Linked DNA regions of Homo sapiens: all the other regions are linked to region 2. The links are contacts of gene promoters, found by promoter capture Hi-C in human tissues and cell types (Jung and others, 2019). All regions are on one chromosome and are shown on one strand. Each heading gives the region's core, a stretch centred on a gene start or on the middle of the fragment in contact. The rest is flanking DNA. Distances are from core to core; before and after follow the strand shown. Region 1 overlaps MMP16 (matrix metallopeptidase 16). Region 2 holds the start of CNBD1 (cyclic nucleotide binding domain containing 1). Region 3 overlaps MMP16 (matrix metallopeptidase 16). Region 4 overlaps MMP16 (matrix metallopeptidase 16). Region 5 has its middle 46 kb from the start of DCAF4L2.

What was found. The method cuts DNA at HindIII sites, captures the fragments that hold promoters and counts their contacts. A contact is called where the count stands out against the background at its distance.
Region 1: a fragment that was not itself captured here is called in contact with the fragment with the promoter of CNBD1 in region 2 in 1 of the 25 tissues and cell types used here (dorsolateral prefrontal cortex).
Region 3: a contact is called between a fragment that was not itself captured here and the fragment with the promoter of CNBD1 in region 2, in 1 of the 25 tissues and cell types used here (dorsolateral prefrontal cortex).
Region 4: a contact is called between a fragment that was not itself captured here and the fragment with the promoter of CNBD1 in region 2, in 1 of the 25 tissues and cell types used here (dorsolateral prefrontal cortex).
Region 5: a fragment that was not itself captured here is called in contact with the fragment with the promoter of CNBD1 in region 2 in 1 of the 25 tissues and cell types used here (dorsolateral prefrontal cortex).

Annotation. Positions count from the first base shown.
Region 1 is chr8:88,321,872-88,324,571 of GRCh38, forward strand. All of the region lies in intron 1 of MMP16 (matrix metallopeptidase 16), which reads right to left. Among named protein-coding and RNA genes, the nearest start is that of MMP16, 4.3 kb to the right of the region's middle. The HindIII fragment of the contact is 4,597 bases long and covers 1-2,700 here.
Region 2 is chr8:86,864,994-86,867,693 of GRCh38, forward strand. CNBD1 (cyclic nucleotide binding domain containing 1) reads left to right here and starts at 1,422. Exons shown (of 11, transcript NM_173538.3): 1 at 1,422-1,590. The coding sequence starts at 1,503. The HindIII fragment of the contact is 15,353 bases long and covers 1-2,700 here.
Region 3 is chr8:88,064,337-88,067,036 of GRCh38, forward strand. All of the region lies in intron 7 of MMP16 (matrix metallopeptidase 16), which reads right to left. Among named protein-coding and RNA genes, the nearest start is that of DCAF4L2, 190 kb to the left of the region's middle. The HindIII fragment of the contact is 4,449 bases long and covers 1-2,700 here.
Region 4 is chr8:88,304,528-88,307,227 of GRCh38, forward strand. The region is part of intron 1 of MMP16 (matrix metallopeptidase 16); the gene reads right to left. Among named protein-coding and RNA genes, the nearest start is that of MMP16, 22 kb to the right of the region's middle. The HindIII fragment of the contact is 8,217 bases long and covers 1-2,700 here.
Region 5 is chr8:87,918,185-87,920,884 of GRCh38, forward strand. No RefSeq gene overlaps it. Among named protein-coding and RNA genes, the nearest start is that of DCAF4L2, 46 kb to the left of the region's middle. The HindIII fragment of the contact is 5,413 bases long and covers 1-2,700 here.

The sequences.
Region 1 (2,700 bases), core at 41-2,540, 1.5 Mb after region 2:
GTTAAAGCCCACTTCCTTCAACTTCTCCCCCAGTGCTCAATTACACCACATTGCTAGCTATCTTGCCATTCCCAATGTTATATGGACACGATATGTTTTTCACTATTTTTTACTATTGTAGAAAACACTTTAATTTCTTTTTCAGTCAATTCTTATCCCTCCCTATACATAATTTTTGAAAAACTTTTTTGTTGTTGTTCAGAATCTGAGGTATAACAGAGCTGGCTTAAGTTTCTTATTGAATCCTACCCATATTATGAAAAGGAAGCACTTGGGGTTTGATCCAATTAAAATAAAAAGGCCTACTGAATTATAAAGGCCTATTTATTTTCTATGGCATTAGAAAAGATGAACAGATTTCAGCGAACGTGATGTTGTAAAAGAAGGTGTGAGCTGAACTTGATATTCTATGATAGTAACAGATGACATGACAAAATGTGAAAATCACATTCTTGAACTAAACTGTCTAAGAAAAACCTACGGGAAGAAAATGTACTGATGTTAGCTTGGTTGATTTTCAGTACATTATATTTTTAATAAATGGAAAGGTGTTTAAATAAAATCTTCCTATACCAATTGATATGTCCTAACCTGATAGATGTTTATGTCATTAGATGCTATGGTGCCAATTACTTCCTTATCGACCTTTATTTTCTATTAATAATAATGACATGTGGCTAGATGTGGTGGCTCATGTCTGTAATCCCAGCACTTTGGGAGGTCAAGGAGGGAGAATCACTTGAGCTCAGGAGTTTGAGACCAGCCTGGACAACATAGTGAGATCTTGTCTCAATGAAAATTAAAAAAAAAAAAAGAAAAAAGAAAAAGCTGGGTATGGTGGTATGTGCCTGTAGTGCCAGCTACTCAGGAGGCTAAGGTGGGAGGATTGCTTGAGCCCAGGAGGTTGAGGCTGTAGTGAGCTATGATCACGTCATGTAATGGTTTCATGAATAACCATAGACCTGAGTGATCCGGCCCAGGCAACTCTGAACAGAGAGGCATAGTCAAGGTAGAACATGTAGGAGAAGCTAGAGAACCTTAAAACAATTGAGACTCTTGTTCTCCTTATCATAGCTTTGGGCCCTTATGAGCACCCTAAACAGCCAGCATATTTGAGACGTTTTGTTAAACCTGCAATCTTGCGGTACATAAAAATCTTGATGAATCAGTCATACAGCCCCTGTTGTTGACCAGTTAGAAACTGCTACAGTGGAGAATTATAGGCTATATTCAGGAGACAACCTTTACTCAAGAAGGCATGGTACCACCATTCTTCCATGTCCAAATGAAATAATGCATCTTGATTTTTTAAGCAAGCAAAGAACAAGAGAAAAGCAACAGTGTCCCAACATAAGAATGTAAAATTCTATAAAATATAATTTTTATCTCTGAAATGTCTCATGATTAATTATTACCAAATTTATATGCAATACAAAAGTACCCAATGCAAACTCTGACTTTTTAGGTACATGCAGGCAAACCTGACAAAGGTTTGAATAAATCTTAAATCAGTTAAGTAAATATATTGCAAGAAAAATTTAGGAAATAGTTATACTCAATTCATATTTGTCATAAAAGACCCCTTTGAAATCTAAAATATCTCTGCTTTCTTTAATCAGGAACAACAAAATCAATTTTTGCCTTATCAAGACTTTTTTTGTCACAAAAGAGTAATCATTTTATGCTTTGATATATGCATCATTTAGAATTTTATATGTTTTTATTTTACCACTAAATCAGCTTGAAAATTTTTTCCTCCCTGGAAATGTATGCTATTGTTTAGAAATTGATAAGGAATATGCTGTTCACATAAGTAATATCTGACAAACTATTCAGAGTTGACGATATGAGAGGTATTACTATCATGAACTATGTTCTGTCTCAAATTTCATAACAAAAATGCTCACAGCATACCAAAAAAAAAAGCCACAGGATCATGAAAATCCCTATATGAGATAGCTATTTTAGGAACAAAATGATTTTTAAGACAGTAGACATTAATAATTATTTGTTAATAATTTAGCTGCTTCTGACCAATGAACACCTCTGATTCAGACTGCTGTCCAATGACAACAGTTTTTGACTTTTAGTTAATATTAGCAATGTTCCCTTGCATCGTGCTAATTATCACATACTGAAAGACCAACTCTTAAAAAAGGGATCCAATGATATATGGATATCTTTACCTAAGTGAGTATATACTGAAAACTTAACAATAAAAGTGTTCCACTTGAAATGAAAGTAGAGCAGTGTATTGAATCTCTTCCATAGTACTACTCCTGGTAGTGTCTGACCCTTTCTTAGCTGTAAGAGATGTTCCTTTTTGCTTCTTAAAAAACAAGCTAACCAAGCAAAACCAAATGCACTCTCTTTCTGTAACAGGATTTCATCACCATATTAAAAATATCTCTCACTTCGATAATTGACAACTCCAAATATTTATACCCTTAAAAATCAGACAGGAAAGAGTTAACATGAATACCTCTAGCCAACCACCCTCTTCAAATCCCCCACTTCCCTGGGAAAAATATACAGTCTTAAACCTTAAATCACAGAGATAAAAAAGAATGGGGGGACCACAAATTGTTAAGTTTAGTGATGAATAAAGCAATGTAATCTTAGTTGTCAGCATAAAAAGCATCCCCCTGAAGCTTTGTTCCAACTATAAAAACTTTCTGTGCTTACTGAAAAAAAATTTTA
Region 2 (2,700 bases), core at 172-2,671:
TGAAGTTGCTCCAGAAATGGTTGGTTTACACTCTGCTAGTCCAGTTCAGGTATCAGACAGCCACAGTCCTTTTGTATATTACCTGATGAAATGGGGGAGTTCCCTGATTCCCCTCACAGAATGTGTGACAGGGCTGTGGTTTGCCTGCTTGGTTGGTCATCGCTGCTGCTCAAACCCTGTGGGGAGGGGGAGCACACAGACGGACAGGTGCAGGAGCCCAAGTGGGCATTGTGTTGCAGTGTGCCCTTGTAGCCCTACCCTCCATGGATGGCTTGATGTTAACAAGCTCAATGGACCCTCTGCCTTTTCACAAGGGTAGAGGGCCAGTGTGATAGCTTTCTGTATCCTGAATTCTTGCCCAGCATCCCAGAAGTACTGGGTCACACATGGGCTTGAAGGAAGAACTCAGGGTTTTATTGAGTGGTGGAGGTGGCTCTCAGCAGGATGGATGGGGAGCTGGAAGGGGGATGGAGTGGGAAAATGATCTTCCCCTGGAGTTTGGCCGTACAGTGGCTGAACTCCTCTCAGTGTTCAGATGTTCCTCCTTTTCTCACTTTCTCTGCCTGTCATTCTGCCATTCATCTATTTGTCTCATCTCTTCGTCTGCTTCTGGAGCCTGGGATTCAGGGTTTATATGGGTACAGGATAGGGTGTGTTGCAGGCCAAAAGGCAACTTTTTAGGTGCAAAAACAGGAATGCCTGTCCCAATCTAGGGCCGCAGGTCTCCAGGCTTGAGGGTGGGGCCTTTACTGGGGAACTGCCCTCTTCTACCCAGTGTTTCCCTGTCTCCTGTCCGTATCACTCTAACAGTTATGATACCAGGACCCTATTTCTAAAGGCCTTGGAAGATAATACACAGCATCAAAAGATACATTAGTTAGGATTGTAAACCCTAGCCATTGTAACTATCCTTAATTATTGTGAAGCAGCAGAAAATAACAAAAAAACATGTTCCACACTCTAGCAGAATATAGTTAAATGTAAGCTGGGGTGGGTTTATTGGTGTATGATAATTAGAAGGGATGGTTTACCCTATAAATGTGGCCATGAAGAACAGTATAAATATGCTATCTCTGTTACTGCTGGTACAGAAAGGGCCTGTGATACCCAGTGTAAACATTTGGTAGGCAGGAAAAGGGCTCTGGACTATGGAAGACCAAGGAAGTGAATACTTTCATTTCACCTAGACTCATGAGTGCTGTTGATTCTGCTGTATCAGCCTTGTGGGCTACAGTTTCCTTCTTCATTATTGCTACTCTCTATAGCTCATAAAGTCCTCCTTATGATTTCCACTGGACTAAAATGTAGCATAGTTCTTCCTGGTCTAGATGACACTCTTGGAAATGCACAAACAATGGATAAGAACTATGAACAAGAAGATTCCGTAGGATTCAACCTATCAGAGAGGACCTTGAAGTTCTGCTTTATGAGCCTGCAGGCAAAGAGTGATCATTTGCCTCTCAAGCAGCCTCTGGTCATCTATCTGCCTTTGAGCCATCAAGATGCCGATGTCTTCTCTTCCAGCAGCTATTTTGTCTCACATGACAGCTATTAACAATGTGCCTCCTCCTCCACTTCACAGTATACCAAGTGAGTGGGAAATACTTTGATGCTCTTATTCACCTACCATTGTTTTCAGCGGTTCTTACCCCAGCTATGAAAATTGGGGGTATTTCAGGGTTGATAGGGACATTGGGAATCTTATTGACAGTGCTGAAGAATGGAAAGAACATAGATGTGTAAATCCTGCTTGGTCTACTTGAAGTCATTTCAGTACTCTAGGTCTTAAGTATTTTTTCTCTGTAAAATGAGGATCTTTACGAACTCTTAGAGCTTCAGATACATTGAAATATTTCTAAAGATGAAAGAAAACAAAGATTTAGAGAGGCCACATGTTCCACCAGCTATCAGGTTCCTTTTTCTAGCAGATCTTCTACTCCCTACCAAGAGTTGGTCCTACTACGCTTAATGGGATAATTAATACTTAATATTCTCTAGGAGAATTCTCATTTCAATTTGACAAGGAAAAAAAGATAATTCCTACTATTCTGACTGTGAAATTTATTCCTATTTAACTTTTTTATTTTCTAGTCTTACTTATAAGAATTAAGTATAGAACTAGATATTTCAAAGTTTATATAATTGACAGTATTTTCTCATTTTATGTAATTAGTCTAAACCTATAACGTTTTCTTAAGATTGTAAACACTTCTCATGGCCATCGAATTTATAAGATCTATTATTTGAACACCATCATTCTGACTAGCAATATGTATGAGTTCCAGTGTTAGTTAAGATTTTTAAAAAATATCTGGATAACAAAGGTAATACTTGTGATCCTTTTCAACTTCAATAAAGCATTAACTCTTATTTTATTATTCATTGGGCAGATTTATAGTATTGATTTGAAGAAGCTAAGCCATCCATCCTTTTCCCTTCCTGTGAAAGTTAATTTCTCCAAATACATTTTAAAAAATTAATGCTCATAGTCTCCAGGTTAAAAGGTATAACAGGTGGCAGTTGATACTCCTTGAAGGGGTACACTGATGTCTTGAATAGTGTTAGACAAAATCCTTATGTTAAACAAAATTAATTCCATTTGTATTATAGTGAAAATAATCTTGCATCTGGTCAAAGTTTTCTATTTCTACTTGAGTGGAAATAAGAATTAAGTGCAATTTTGCTGAAGAAACACAGCTT
Region 3 (2,700 bases), core at 9-2,508, 1.2 Mb after region 2:
ATTCTTTGAGAAAACATCAGGGAATTTAAAACATTTTTATAAATAATCAATATTTTATTTGTTAGATTATGTTATTTAATGGGGCATTCAATAGCTTTGAAGTCAGAACTAGGGGGTGACAGCTCTACCAATAACCAGCTGTAAGATCCTGGGCAAGTCATGAATCTGAGCTTTCCTTTCATAATTTGTACATAGGATGCTAACTTAATGCTCGCTTGGAATTCGGGAAATAATGAGAGATCAAATACACTCACACTGTAGGTGCCTCAGGCTGTCCCAATAAATGGTTATAACACAGTATTTCACTGATCAAATTTGCTTATCACCTACTCAAATAAATAAATGATACCAATAATAAACAAGTAACACTAATCTCTATTTGGGCTCAATATTTGGAGTATGTTTTAATTTCTATATTGTTTATAGATAGGTTGCTCAGGAAACTTGAATAAATGCCCAACTCTTGAGGTCATATGACTTTTTGTTAGTAGCATTTTGTTTTCCAGATTCCACAATATTATCTAGCAAGCAGAGAATTTTGAATGCTTGTGCAAGTGTGGTTGCCGCTGAGGTGTGCAGCTCAGGACTTCCTTAGAGAAAGAAACTATCATCAGCTGAGTGCCTTTGGGTCTGATGCATCAGTTGGGCCAAGGCTACACTCTTCTTCAGCAGCCTCCCACCAAAGACTGATCACAGCAGAGTACTAAAGCCTGGCCATTTTTGCTCTGCATGTGAGTCCTCTAAGAGGCATTCTTTGATGTGAAGCTTGGCATCGGGTTCACCAAGACTTTGTCACCTGCTGCTAATCCTGCCTTGTCCCCTTTAATCTTTCACATATTTACCTTCTTCCCTGACAAACCTCTCAACCTCCTAACTTGGTCTCAGTGTCTGCTTTCTGGGGAACTCTACAGGGCACAACAAACAAAGTGATGTTATAACAGTTTTTGAAAATAAGGAAAACTTTTAGATACACAAGTAATATTGACAGGAAAATATTGCAGCTTTAAATATAAATGAAAATAGACATAATAAAACTATACTATGGAGTTTTTGAATCATTTTAATAAGTAGAGGTATATTAGCAATTAGAGTTTCAAATATTAAACATTTGGACCTATGTTTTAGATGATCATTTCAACATAAAATATTAATACTAAAATTCCATAAATATTTATAATTCAAAAAATAGCACTATTTGCTTGGTCTAAATCTATTTTCACATATACCAAGACTACTAAATATAAATTCCTTAATCTAGTATAACTTTTTATACATCAATCTTCTGTTACATCCTATAAAGAAATAAATAATCATTGTACTCACCTATTTATAGAAAATGTTTCTTTTACGTTACCTATTTATTGTACTATGTAAGAAACAATGTATTTCGACCTCAAATGAACTTCATGAATACTCCCTAAACCTTTCAAGAAAAAGAATTTGTGAGCAGCATAAAGAAATTGCCTGTTTATGAGGACTCATTTGAAATAAAATAACAATTAAAGTCATATAAACCATTTCTTAACAAACAGTTCTTTTCTTTGCCATTTTCCAGCACCGAGTATTTTAGACAACTCCTCTCTTTTGATACACATCTTGTGTATGCCATTTTTATTCCCAAATTTTACTGCCGTCCTCTTTTCTGCCTCATATATTTTAGTTTCTATTCCACAAGTGATTTGTGTCTCTTGAAATGAAACTGCCAACCAGGGTAATAAGTACTGCTTAAAGTTATTAAGTCATAGCAACAGTTTGAATTTTGAGACAACCTTTCAGCTACTTGATTTTATTTTGACTGTTACTGATTCTGACAACACTAGCATCTTTGTTTTAAAATTTGTTTCCAATTCTTGAAAGAGATTGCACCAGCTCAATTTTTAAGACAGCTTTTTTGATACTATTATCTCATAACCATTCAGTCTTAACATGCCTAGTAATTGAGAATGTACACCTGGCTTGATTATGCTTACAAAATGTTACTCTTTATATGGGATATACCTGAGTGATGGAAAGATAGCTAACTAGCACAAAGTGTGGAGTACATTCAGTTGCTGGGAAAAAAAAACATATTACTTCCTCGAGGTGTGATACATTTTCTATTTCTGGGTCTCTCTAAATAAAAAACAAACACCTTATGAGCATAAAGGAGAACGACTCAGTGTTACTTACTAAATATCAAATAGAGGAATAAATAGGTCTATTCAGGCATCACAACTGTAAATGGTGCTAACTGATAGTCACATACACCAAATGGCTGACTTTCAGTAAGAAAGCCCTGTGGGTTTGTACATCTACACTCTCACTCAACAGCAAGCAACTTAATCAGTGAAGGGAGACATTATACACTGGCTTCTTTAAAAAAACAAAAACAGCAGCAAAAAAAACCCACCCCACACATGTCTACACATGCGAGGTTGAAAGAAAAAGTATCTAAAATACTTGTCCACTTACTTGTACCGATAATCATTTCACAAAAATTTGAGGGATCTGATGCAAAATGTGATACAAAGAGAAAACATAAATTAAAAACAAACAAAAATAAGATGAGAAATTACAGAGCAAAAATAAAATACAGATAAAGAATATAAAATAACAGTGACAAAATTATTCAAAATGTGGGCATCAAAATTTTTTTGGTAGTTATTTCCAAGATGACCACTTAGTAGAGAATACTTTATAATCATTATAAGTTATAGCATC
Region 4 (2,700 bases), core at 113-2,612, 1.4 Mb after region 2:
TGTTAAGGGCTGCCAGAGAGAAAGGCCTAGCCACCTACAAAGGGAAGCCCATCAGACTAACAGCAGGCCTCTTAGTGGAAACCCTACAAGGCAGAAGAGATTGGGGGCCAATATTCAACATTCTTAAAGAAAAGAATTTCCAACCCAGAATTTCATATCAAGCCAAACTAAGCTTCATAAGCAAAGGATCAATAAGATTCTTTTCAGACAAGCAAATGCTGAGGGAATTCATCATCATGAGGCCTGCCTCACAAGAGCTCCTGAAGGAAGCACTAAATATGAAAAGGAAAAGCCATCACCAGCCACTTAAAAAACACCCTAAAGTATATAGACCAGTGACACTATAAAGCAACCACATAAACAAGTCTGCAAAATAACCAGCTACCATCATAATGACAGGATCAAATTCACACATAACAATACTAACCTTAAATGTAAATGGACTACATGCCCCCAATTAAAAAACACAGAATGAAAGGCTGGATAAAGAGCCAAGATCCACTGGCATGCTGTATTCAACAGACCCATGTAAAGTGAAAGACACATAGGCTTGAAATAAATGGATGAAGGAAAATTTACCAAACAAATGGAAAACAAAAAAAGCAGGGATTGCAATCTTGGATTCTGACAAAACAGACTTTAAACCAACAAAGATCAAAAAATACAAAGAAGAGCATTACATGATGGTAAATGGTTCAATTCAAAAAGAAGAGTTAACTATCCCAAATATATATGCACCCAATACAGGAGCACTCAGATTCATAAGCCAAGTGTTTAGGGACCTACAAAGAGACTTAGATGCCCACACAGCAATAGTGGGAGACATTAATACCCCACTGACAATATCAGATCATCAAGACAGAAAATTAACAAAGATATTCGGGACTTGAACTCACCTCTGGATCAAGTGGACCTCATAGATATCTACAGAACTCTCCACCCCAAAACAACAGAATATATATTCTTCTCATTGCCACATGGCACTTACTTTAAAATTGATCCTACAATCAGAAGTAAAACACTCTTCAGCAAATGCAAAAGAAATGAAGTCACAACAGTCTGTCAGACCACAGTGCAATCAAATTAGAACTCAAGATTAAGAAGTTCACTCAAAACCATACAATTACATGGAAATTGAATAACCTGCTCCTGAATGACTTTGGGGTAAATAACGAAATTAAGGGAGAAATCAAGAAGTTCTTTGAAACTAAACAGAACAAGGAGACAATGTACCAGAATCTCTGGGACACAGCTAAAGCAGTGTTAAGGGGGAAATTTATAGCACTAAATGCCCACATCAAAAAGCTAGAAAGATCTCAAGTTGACCACCTAACATCTCAACTAAAAGAACTAGAGAACCAGAGCAAACAAAACCCAAAGCTAACAGAAGACAAAATATAATCAAGACTAGAGCTGAACTAAAGGCGACAGAGACACGAAAAGCCCCTTGAAAAATCAATGAACCCAGGAGGTGTTTTTTTTTTTGAAAAAATTAATAAAATAGACTACTAGGTAGACTAAGGAAAAAGAAAAGAGAGAAGAATCAAATAAACAGAATTAGAAATGATAAGGGGGATGTCACCATTGACCCCACAGAAATACAAACAACCATGAGAGAATACTATAAACACCTTTATGCACATAAACTAAAATCTAGAAGAAGTGGATAAATTCCTGGATGCATACACACTCCCAAGACTGAACCATGAAGAAATTGCATTCCTGAAAGACCAACAGTGAGTTCTGAAACTGAGGCCATAATAAATAGCCTACCAACAACAAAAAGCCCAGCACCAGATAGATTCACAGCTGGATTCTACCAGAGATACAAAGAATAACTGGTACCATTTCTGCTGAACTATTCCAAAAAATTGAAAAGGAGGGACACTTTCCTAGCTCATTTTATGACACCAACATCATCCTGATACCAAAACTAGGCAGCGATACCACAAAGAAAACTTCAGGCCAATATCCTTGATGAACATGGATGTAAAAATCCTCAGTAAAATATTGGCAAACTGAATCCAGCAGCATATAAAAAAGCATATGCACTACAATCAAGTTGGCTTCATCCCTGGGATGCAAGGTTGGTTCAATATATGCAAATCAGTAAATGTGATTCATCACCTACACACAACCAAAGACAAAATCCACATGGTTATCTCAATACATGCAGAAAAGACCTTCAATAAAAGTCAAAATCCCTTCATGTTAAAAACTCTCAATGAACTAGGTATTGAAGAAATACACTGTAAAATAATAAGAGCCATATATTTCAAACCCACAGCCAGTATCATACTAAATGGGCAAGAGCTGGAAGCATTCCCCTTGAAAATTGGCACAAGACATGGATACCCTCTTACCATTCCTATTCAACACAGTATTAGAAGTTCTGGCCAGGGCAATCAGGCAAGAGAAAGGAATAAAGGTATTCAAATAGGAAGAGAGAAAGTCAAACTATCTTTGTTTGCAGATGGCAGGATCCTGTATCTAGAAAACCCCATTGTCTCAACCCAAAAGCATCTTAAGCTGATAAGCAACTTCAGCAAAGTCTCAGAATACAAAATCAATGTGCAAAAATTGCTAGCATTCCCATATGCCAACAGGCAAGCAGAGAACCAAATCAAGGTCTCACGTTTAAGATATCTGCAACTGCCCCATACTTTCCTGGTGCACTCCATCCAACAATCTCTGAACTAC
Region 5 (2,700 bases), core at 148-2,647, 1.1 Mb after region 2:
TCTTTCCTACTCCACAGTACTTCCACATTGAGTCCTAGGTTTAAAAAAATCAGCTATTCTTTTCTATTATTTTCCTTTTTATCTTATTTAAAGGAAAACAAACAGTGAATGCTTTGAAATGAACTTGACATATTAACCATGATCATTGCTACATGCCCTGCTTTTATTTCTCAAAAGTTCACAACAGGTCTCTTCTTTCTAAGTCTCAGAAGCTGTGCTAAGCCACATAGATCACTTGAGGACTCATAGTTTAACCTTCTCCCATAATCCTAAACTAGAGTCAGACTTGAGGAATGAGATCTTGTTGGCTCTTTCCCAAGACTACATTCAAGACTACTCATCATTTGCTTAGCCTCTTCAACCAGCTTATTTCATTGTCTCTCTGGTTCACAGCAGCTTTATCTTACAACTGGCCTAAGCTGGAATTAACAAGCTGAATTTCCCAAAACACTAATCAAAACTACTTGCAGAAAACACATTATCTTCAGTTTCCTATAACTCCAAACATAGGGGAAACTAAAAAGAGCTGATTCATTTTGCATTTTCTATTTGGGTTTGTAACAGGATGTCGGAATGTCTCTAATAATATGAGCATTGTCCTTCAAGATGGTCATATCTAGATACTGAGTGCTTTCTCTAATAAAGTTCCCATTGTTAAAACTGTGAACAATGCTTTGAACATTCTGCTTTGGAATTACCTTCACTACTGATTTACATGTAATATGAGGGATATCATACTACTTTTTGACCACACCTCACAAAGGTCAAAATTTTCTCAAAGAAAATTAAATGGTGTGGTTTAGACACAAAGTTTTGAGTGTCTTTGAGAAATGATCCAGTATAACTATTCAAGACAAAGGCTGTGGAAATCTTAGACCATAGTTACGAGTCAAAACAAAAATAAAGCAAGCTGTGCCTTCCATATATGCCTGAGGCTATGTCTCCAAAAATTTCTAGTTAAGTGTAAAATGTTCAGCCAATTATTTTCTTATGCACTGCCAAAAAGTCTTATTTGATTTCGTTACTTATTTTATGTATTTATGCGTTTTATACCCAATCAACTAGTCATAATATCTGCACAGACTCAGTTTCAGGAAGATCTCTGCTTCAGACTCAGAGTATAATCATTAAGATAGTAACATAATAAAAATCCTTTCAAGAATCTTTATTACTTATTTATTCTAAAATAAATTCTTCATAATCACGATGGTTTATCTCAACTCTCTACAGAGCCTGCAAAAAGTAATAAGACTTTAAACTTCAGGTGCTTCAACACCTAAATTTCCTACAATAAAGATTTATATTTAAAAAGTCTCTTATTTTAAATGTTTAAATGTTCAAGGGTTTGGGGTACAACAGTATGAGTTATCATGTTCATGTAAAGGGATAAAATACTCTGCAGAAAAGCCAGAAGGATGTAGAATTGAATGTCAATGTCTAAGTTTTATGTGAATGAAACAGAGTGCTATGTATTGGAATGCCCTGAGGAGTGCAGGCAGCCGTAAAAAAAAAGTTTCAACAGAGAAAGTGGCCCATTTGTTGTCTGAATTACAAGGTCATTGCATTGGTCTATACAGCAAGCATCAAATTAATTACTTCTCTTTCAGATTTGACAATAAGAAGACAATAAAGCATAAGTGGTGATAGACATATATAGTTCAGTTAAATGAGACCGAATTGTACTAAATCATAACATGATCATGGTTGATTACAGCATTAACAATCCAACCATGCAAATTCATATATACAGAAAATGTACATGCACTCACATACAGAGGATGAACTATGTGATTGAGAATCTGTGGGTTATGTTTGCGTGTCACATTTCTTTAAGAAATATTAACCAAAAACACCACTCAGAGGTGAAAGAATCCTTCACCAACCAAAAAATACTCTTGCAAATGGAACACAGAAATTCTGACATTTGAACAAAAATTAAACATTGAAATGTATTAGGTCATGCCAAACATTATTGATGAATATATGTACAAACAATTTATGATGAACACTAGAAATTTTCTTGCTTGCATAATGCAAGGTATTATATCATTATTAATATCACTATTTTATCATTTGTATATAAAAGACAACAGATATCCTCTTCAAATTATTGAATTTTAAGTATTTATCTACAAAGGATTTGAAAAATTGATTCAAAAATGGTGATAGAGTATGTGTTATTATCCCGGTGTATTACTGAATGTGTCAAAATCCTTTACACACTGAATGTAAATTATCCCTAAAAATCATATTTAAAATTTGTTCCACCCTTGCTTATATTTTTGGGGTGACTGAAGCAGTCCCTGATTAGTTAGCAAGCACTTCTTTAGTATATGCTGTAAACAAAGGTCCAACCAAATTGGATCCGGTTTAGCCAATAGAAATCTAGCTGTCAAAATCTGCTCCAGCTTTCAATGTCTTAGACTTTCATTTTCTAAGTGGACATGAACCTGAAGTTTGGTCTAGTCTCCAAATAAGAAAACTGCCACTCTAAATGTGATTATCTTCATGCTGCACCCTAGTGATCATCCAGTGTGGTGTAGTAGAATGAATGCAGGATATGGAGTCAGGACACTGATAAAAATCCCGCAGATACAAAACACTCTTCAGAGATAGCTGTGTAACGTGGGGCAACTGGGTCTTCTAGATGTGTAGCTTTGGGCAACTCGTTTGCATTTCTGACCCTCTTATTTGTTTTCC